Linked DNA regions of Homo sapiens: region 2 is linked to region 1. The links are contacts of gene promoters, found by promoter capture Hi-C in blood cells and fetal thymus (Javierre and others, 2016). All regions are on one chromosome and are shown on one strand. The core of a region is centred on a gene start or on the middle of the fragment in contact, and the rest is flanking DNA. Distances in the headings are between cores, read along the strand shown.

Region 1 (3,381 bases), core at 336-2,835:
CTCTAGCTGCCAACATATTTCCTTTCCTCTGCAGCAAAACTCCTTTAAAGAGTTAGCTATGCTCACCATCTATAGTTTCTCTCCCCCTACATTCACTTGAGTAAGTCTTTCTATCTCATCATACCACTGAATCAGCTCCTGTCAAGGTCACTGGTGAACTCCACACTGCCAAATCAACAGTCAGTTCTCAGTTCTACCCCAACTTGTCTCAGGAGCACTTGATGGAGGAGAAAGAAGTTACTTCTCCTGGAAACACTATTATTTCTTCCACTCGCTTCTTCCTCATGGATCATGTCTTTGATTCCTTTGCCAGGTCTCCTCTTCCCCCAGCCTTACTGTGGATGATCCCAGGATCAGTCCTTACACCTCTTTATTAATATTCATTCTATGTCTCACAAAGACCATCACAGGCTGACAGTGAGCAAGTTTATATTTCAGACATGGGTCTCGCTCCTGAACCCAAGATCTGAATATTTTAATTGCCTATTTCATCTCCACGTGATGTCCAATGGGCACTTCCAACTCAATACGTCTTAAACAGAACTCTTGATCTTCCCCATTTCCAAACCCTGGCAAGCCTTTAACCTCTCTGCTCTTATTTCCTTGCCTAGAATACAGGGCACGTAATAGCAACAGTGCAGGCTGGAGCTACAGTGCCCGGCTTGGCACTGTTCACTTGCTGTGTGAACTACTTCACCTCTTCATCCCCAAGTTCCCTCATCTGTAAAATGGAAATAACAATATTAACAGCCCCTACGTTACAGGGTTGCTGTGAAGCGGTTAGAACAGTGTCTACAGGGTCAGCGCTGTAATACCTGTTGGAAATTATTCTTACGAAGACCAAATGAGGTAACTTTGTGCAAGTGCTGTGTAAACGACACAGTGCTAGGCACACACTTCTTTCAGTACCAATGCCACTCGAGTCTGTGAAAAGCAAATGTCAATAATGCTTTCCCAAGATCTTTCTAGACTTAAATTTCAGGACCTAGGTGTTTCCACAAAGCACCGTATTTGTTACCGTGAAAGATTAACAAAAAAAGCAGACAAAATGGCATAGTGCTTCTCAGCAATAGCCCCTAAGGGCTTGGCAGGTATACGGAAGACTGGGAGCTCATCCCCATGGGGTGGTGGGACGCGTAGGGGAGGGGGAGATCTAAGTGTATGATTTTCCTTGCTCACAAGAAGCAGATACTCTATCCCGAGGCATATTTGAATTTCCTAAAAGGAAAAAAAGTGGGGGAGAGGAGGGAAGTTGAGAGGGGAGGAGAAAAGAAAAGAAAAAAGAAAATAAGAGAAGCAGAAAGCAAGCCACCTTCTGGCTTGGGGAAGCCCACTCCATGGCTGTGGCTGGGAGCCCATCACTTACGCGTTCGACATTGCTGGCTACTTTCCCTCTTTTCCTCGCCCTCCGGGAAGCTCTTCCGTTGCTCTCTGAAGGACGGTGGCAGCAGGGGTCAGGGCACTACCAGGAGCTACAGAGGATTTGGGTGGGGGGTCTTCTGGAGGGAGAAACCAGGACTGCGAGAATCTTCTGCTTCGGGCAGGAAAAGGTGAGGCCGGGTTTGCTTCGCAGGCACGGAGCGCGCAGGCGCAGAGAGGTGTTTCACTCCTTCCCGTCGCGACCCAGAGACTCGCGAACCTCACTTCGGCCACTCAGGTGGGCGCGACGCGGCCCTAGCAACGGAAACGCCGCGCCTGCGCATTGCCTTCCGCCTGCCCCCTCCCCCCCCCCGCCCCCCGCATTCCGCGCCTGCGCCACCGCGGGAGGCCTGGGTGGGCGCAGCTGTGGGAGCCGGTCGGAGTCCGAGCGCTCCGTCGCGGGGCCCGGCCGCTTGGCGAGCCTGCTCCGGGCCCCAGCACTTAGCCTGTGGTCCTCCAGGCCGTCTTCCCGCTTTCCTGCTGGCCCCATTTTCATCCACTGTCAGCTCTGCGGCCTTGGGCAAGGCCCTTAATGATGGTGGTCTTCAGTTTTCCCATCTGTAAACTGGGTATAACAGTCGTTCGTTCAGAACTTTACTGGGCATCTATTCTGGGCCAAGTGCAGACTTAGATTCTGGGCACCCAAGACTTAGGCAGACGCGCCCTTCGGAGACTTAATGAGTATGAACTAAGGCGCGGGTGCGTTGTAAATGTAAAATGCAGTGTGGATGCTATTAACAGTTATCCGTAAGTCGCTATGAGTGTTGGCTTTCATTGCTCTTCTTTCTTCGACTTTAGTAACTGTTGAGGTTTATTTGCACATTTTAGACCCTGCAGCTCCTATTGGAACGCCAGGTTTAATGCTGTCAAAGGCGTGGAGAGGACATCCAGGTAAAAATTATAATCAGGATCACAAAACCTCTCCCCCACCATTACTAATGAAATGCGCAAAAGCATAGTAAAAGCCAGCCCTCCGCACCGCCTTCAAATAATGGAGCAAATTATTTCTCAGACGAGAAATTGAGTACAACCTTGTACCGTAAACTTCAAAAACTCAGTGAAATAGCAGCTTGCCGTGGAGAATGGTGTCCAGCCTCATCTCCACCCTCCCAAAGCCCTTCAGGGGGCAGAGACCAAGTAGACACAACACCAAGAATTCTCATTAATGCTTTTTGATGCAAAGAATACACACACTGAAAAGAAGGGGTATGAAAGGGTGAGCCGAACGAGGAAACACCTGGGGAAATCCGGCCAGATAAAACCATCCTGAGTGGAGGTCAATCCCTACCGCTCCCAGGACCTGAGCAGGGACAGGAGAAATCTCCAGGGCTTGCCTTTTTCTAGGTCCCTACATTGAATTGAGGCAAAGATTCAAAGTCAAAGGGCATGTTGTCACAGGAATAGGGCACACTCGTGACAAGAGTGGGAGGATGGTGGTAAAGGAGCTTATCAAAATCTCAGAAGAGAGCACAGAGCCTGGAAGTTGTGTGGATTCAAGGGAGCAGTCCTTATCCTAAATGTGTACTCAGGTTCCAGAAAAGCAGAGAAAAGTGCAGTATCTCAGCTCTGGAACTCAGATACAGTGAGAAGACAGTCAAAGAGAATTCGCCCACATTATATTTGAACAAACAGAACATTTTCAAAGAGCAACACGTGTTAAATAGGAATAAGACAGAAAGAAGCAGCATATCCACTGTCTAAAACCAAGACTTTCATAAAAGTAGAAGAAAAGAAAGGATTATAACATAGGCCAGACAAGTGAAAGAAAGTCTGGAGAAAATCTAACCAAATAAATAAAAGCAGAAAAATCTTTTTTGTTTGTTTGTTTTGAGATGGAGTCTCCCCCTGTCACCCAGGCTGGAGTGCAGTGTGTGATCTCGGCTCACGGCAACCTCCACCTCCCGGGTTCAAGCAATTCTCCTGCCTCAGCCTCCCACGTAGCTGGGATTACAGGCGCCTACC
Region 2 (3,381 bases), core at 574-3,073, 470 kb after region 1:
TTTGTTTCTTTTCTTTTCTGCTAAAGCACAGTCCCAAAGACAAGGCCAAGGGGAATTCTGCCCTTAGCTGTCTATTTCTGCAATATTCACACGTACAAATTCACTCATAAATGCCCCAACCTGCATTTAAGAGGGAGGTGATTTCAGATGAACAATGATCTTTTGCAATAATTGTGACTAACGACTGGCCTCTATTCTCTTCTCTTTGTCTTCCAGGCACTATTTTCCACTGTCTTCCTCTTCCCTGGGTTGCTCAAGTTCACACAGATGTGTCCTCACCAGGACCTCACAGTCAAAGAGACTTTTCTGTCTTTCTGTGTCAGTTTGATGGGAGACCAGATTCCAACCACTAGACACGGCTGCGTCCCTGAAGGCCCGGCTGCTGCAGGCCTCCCTCGATCTGGCCAGGAATGACTCCTTTCCTCCTCTATTGCTATCAGGAGAGGTAGGAGGTGTTAGAGAGACCTCCCCTGCCCACCACACACACCTTCCAGCTTGAGGCTGCCTAAAGATCCCTCAGAAACCCCTGACCTTGTCCCTTCCCTTCCCCCTCCTCCTTGTTCTCCACGCTCTGACCAAGTGGAATTTTCCCCTTCACCACTTCAGGGTCACTTGGTAAAGATTAGTTGGGCAGAAAAGTCAGGGTTGGAGGAAGGGTGTATTTGGAAAGAGGGCTGGGCTGGAGATGAGGAAACTTGGGGTCCAGAAGCTGCTCTGCCACACTCCAGCTCACTGACCCTGGTCAAGTTGCCTCACCCACTTGGGCCTCTCTTTCCTCATTTGCCTAATAAACGTTTGAAATCCCTACACTACTCTTAAAGTGTCTACAACATTTAAAAGCAAATTGCCCCTATTAGAAATCTGGGGCCGCTCCTGCCTTTTCCACGACCTCCCTGCTAGAAGGTCCCAGAACTTTCCCTTTTGACTCCAGAGACACCAACTCTGCTGATGTCACAACTCTCCTCTGACTGCAGGTTAATTTCTGGTGGATGCAATTTCCCTGCCTCTGCTGTTTTTACTGCAGTAGAGTTGCCCTGTGGTACACAGGCAGGTTATTGTTTTATTCTTTACTTTTGAAGCACAGTCAAGAGTTTCAAAAGGGATAAATCAGGAAGGTCCCGCAGGGCTGATGTTCCGTACAAACACCCTGTAAGCCTCTGGGTGTGCCTGTCATCAGTTCTTATACAGACATCATGGGGCTACCGCCTTAGTTTGTAGTTTCTGAATAGCTGGAGGAGGGCGTATTACAGTTGAATAGGAGGGAGTTGCCAGGGAGCTGCCCATCCAATATCTTCTGTTTGTACAAGTTTTAGTTGGATACCCAGAGTCATAGAAATGATTTCTTTTCAATAATAACAGAATCTCTAAAGAGATAAGCCTCCATCCCCTGGGAGGCCAAATGAACAACAGTGTGATATGAGCTGTTTTAGGAATGCAAGTCGGTATCCCGTGATCCCCAGGGACAAAGAGAACAAGTTTAGGGTTGTTCTTGCGTGTGGAAGGAAGCTAGAGAGGTTCCACCTGTCGGAATTGTCATGCATCCTCCTTTATGGACGGACCAGCTATGAGCTACTGCCTTTCCATCAGCAGATGGTTCAAATGAACCCAGAGATTAGGTCTACAGAAAATATAGGTCGCAGCAAAGGAGAAATTCTACGTGAAAGTAGTTAGCACAGCACTCAGCATATGGTAGGGATCCTATAAATATTAATTTTTCCTCACATATAAAAATTCCAATTTGCAGGGTAATCTCAGCTTGTAAAGAAGTGAAAGTTAGAGTGGTAGATTTGTCTCCAGAGATGGTGACAGCACTCTCTGCCATCACACATGTTCTTTTGTATTGTGGCTTTGCTGTCTCTCCTTAAGAAGAGTCTATTTCCCCTTCCCTTGAATTCAGGCAGGTCCTGCAACCTTTTTGACCAATAGAAGTTGGCAGAAGCAGGAGCACACACGGGCGGGCTTGTGAGTGAAGCCTTCTTGGCCTCCCAGCCAAGCCCAGGCACCAGCTGAATGCAGCCGAGTGAATTATCCCAGCCAACCTGCGTGAAGCAGAAGAAACATCATCCCAAATTCTAGCCCCAGAAAATCAAGAACAAATAAAACCATGGTTGTTTGAATCTGCTACATTTTGAGATTGATTTTTTGTTTTGTTTTGTTTTTCAGATGGAGTTTCGCTCTTGTTACCTGGGCTGGAGTGCAATGGCGTGATCTTGGCTCACCACAACCTCTGCCCCCCCGGGTTCAAGTGATTCTCCTGCCTCAGCCTGAGTAGCTGGGATTACAGGCAGGCGCCACTGCACCTGGCTAATTTTGTATTTTTTAGTAGCAATGGGGTTTCTGCATGTTGGTCAGGCTGGTCTCGAACTCCCCACCCCAAGTGATCTGCCCGCCTCGGCCTCCCAAAGTGCTGGGATTACAGGCGTGAGCCACCACGCCCAGCCTGGAGGTTGTTTTTTATGTGGCAACAGATAAAGCAAGTTTTCAGAATAAATCTGTTAAATTGACTTTAGCCTAAAACTGCCTCCTTACCTATTGGTGCAAAAGTTGGTGCAAAAGTAATTGCAGTTTTTGCCATTAAAAGTAATGTCACCAGCCAATATTTTAAGTTTGGCCTAAGGTTTCTCTGTACATCGTGAGCTATAACCTAAATGGAAGTGCAAACAGACTGTAACCTACTCTTGTGCCAATCACTGAGTTTTGCCCAATCTATGGTGGTCAACTCTTTGGACTGTGTTCAAATAAGGCAAATGCTGAGCTGTAACCAATCTGGCCAGTTCTGTACCTCACTTCCATCTTCTGTACATCACTTTCCTTTGTTCTGTCTATAAATCATCTTCCACCACCTAGCTGTGCTGGACTCTCTGAGCCTACTCTGGCTCTGGAGGCTACCTGATTTATGAATCATTCTTTGCTCAATTAAACTCTGTTAAATTTAGGCCGGGCGCTGTAGCTCGTGCCTGTAACCGCCGCACTTTGGGAGGCTGAGGTGGGAGGATCACTTGAGGCCAGGAGATCGAGACCAGCCTCGCCCACGTGGTGAAACCCAGTCTGTACTAAAAAGACAAAGTATTAGCCAGAGGTGGTGGTGCATGCTTGTAATCCCAGCTAATTGGGAGGCTGGGCCAGGAGAATCCTCGAACTTGGGAGGCAGAGGTTGCGGTGAGCCGAGATCACACCACTGCACTCCAGCCTGGGTGACAAGAGCAAAACTCCATCTCAAAAATAAAATAAAATAAAATAAACTCTGTTAAATTTAATTTGGCTAAGGATTTTATTTTAACAATTCAAGAAAGAGTTTCAAAATTTAACCTTTCCATAAGATTTTTCTTTTTCTTTCTATCCTCCCCAAATTTTTCATATAATCCGTGTACTTTCAAAAAT

The links. Contacts are between HindIII fragments. The CHiCAGO score rates a contact against its expected background, and 5 or more counts as called.
Region 2: a fragment that was not itself captured here is called in contact with the fragment with the promoter of DRC11 in region 1 in 1 of 17 cell types (M2 macrophages); the score reaches 7.0 in M2 macrophages.

What each region holds. Positions count from the first base shown.
Region 1 is chr2:236,505,891-236,509,271 of GRCh38, forward strand. DRC11 (dynein regulatory complex subunit 11) reads right to left here and starts at 1,586. Exons shown (of 19, transcript NM_024726.5): 1 at 1,367-1,586. The coding sequence starts at 1,377. RefSeq lists a silencer at 1,712-1,761. The HindIII fragment of the contact is 24,475 bases long and covers 1-3,381 here.
Region 2 is chr2:236,976,221-236,979,601 of GRCh38, forward strand. All of the region lies in intron 1 of COPS8-DT (COPS8 divergent transcript), which reads right to left. Among named protein-coding and RNA genes, the nearest start is that of COPS8-DT, 110 kb to the right of the region's middle. The HindIII fragment of the contact is 4,273 bases long and covers 1-3,381 here.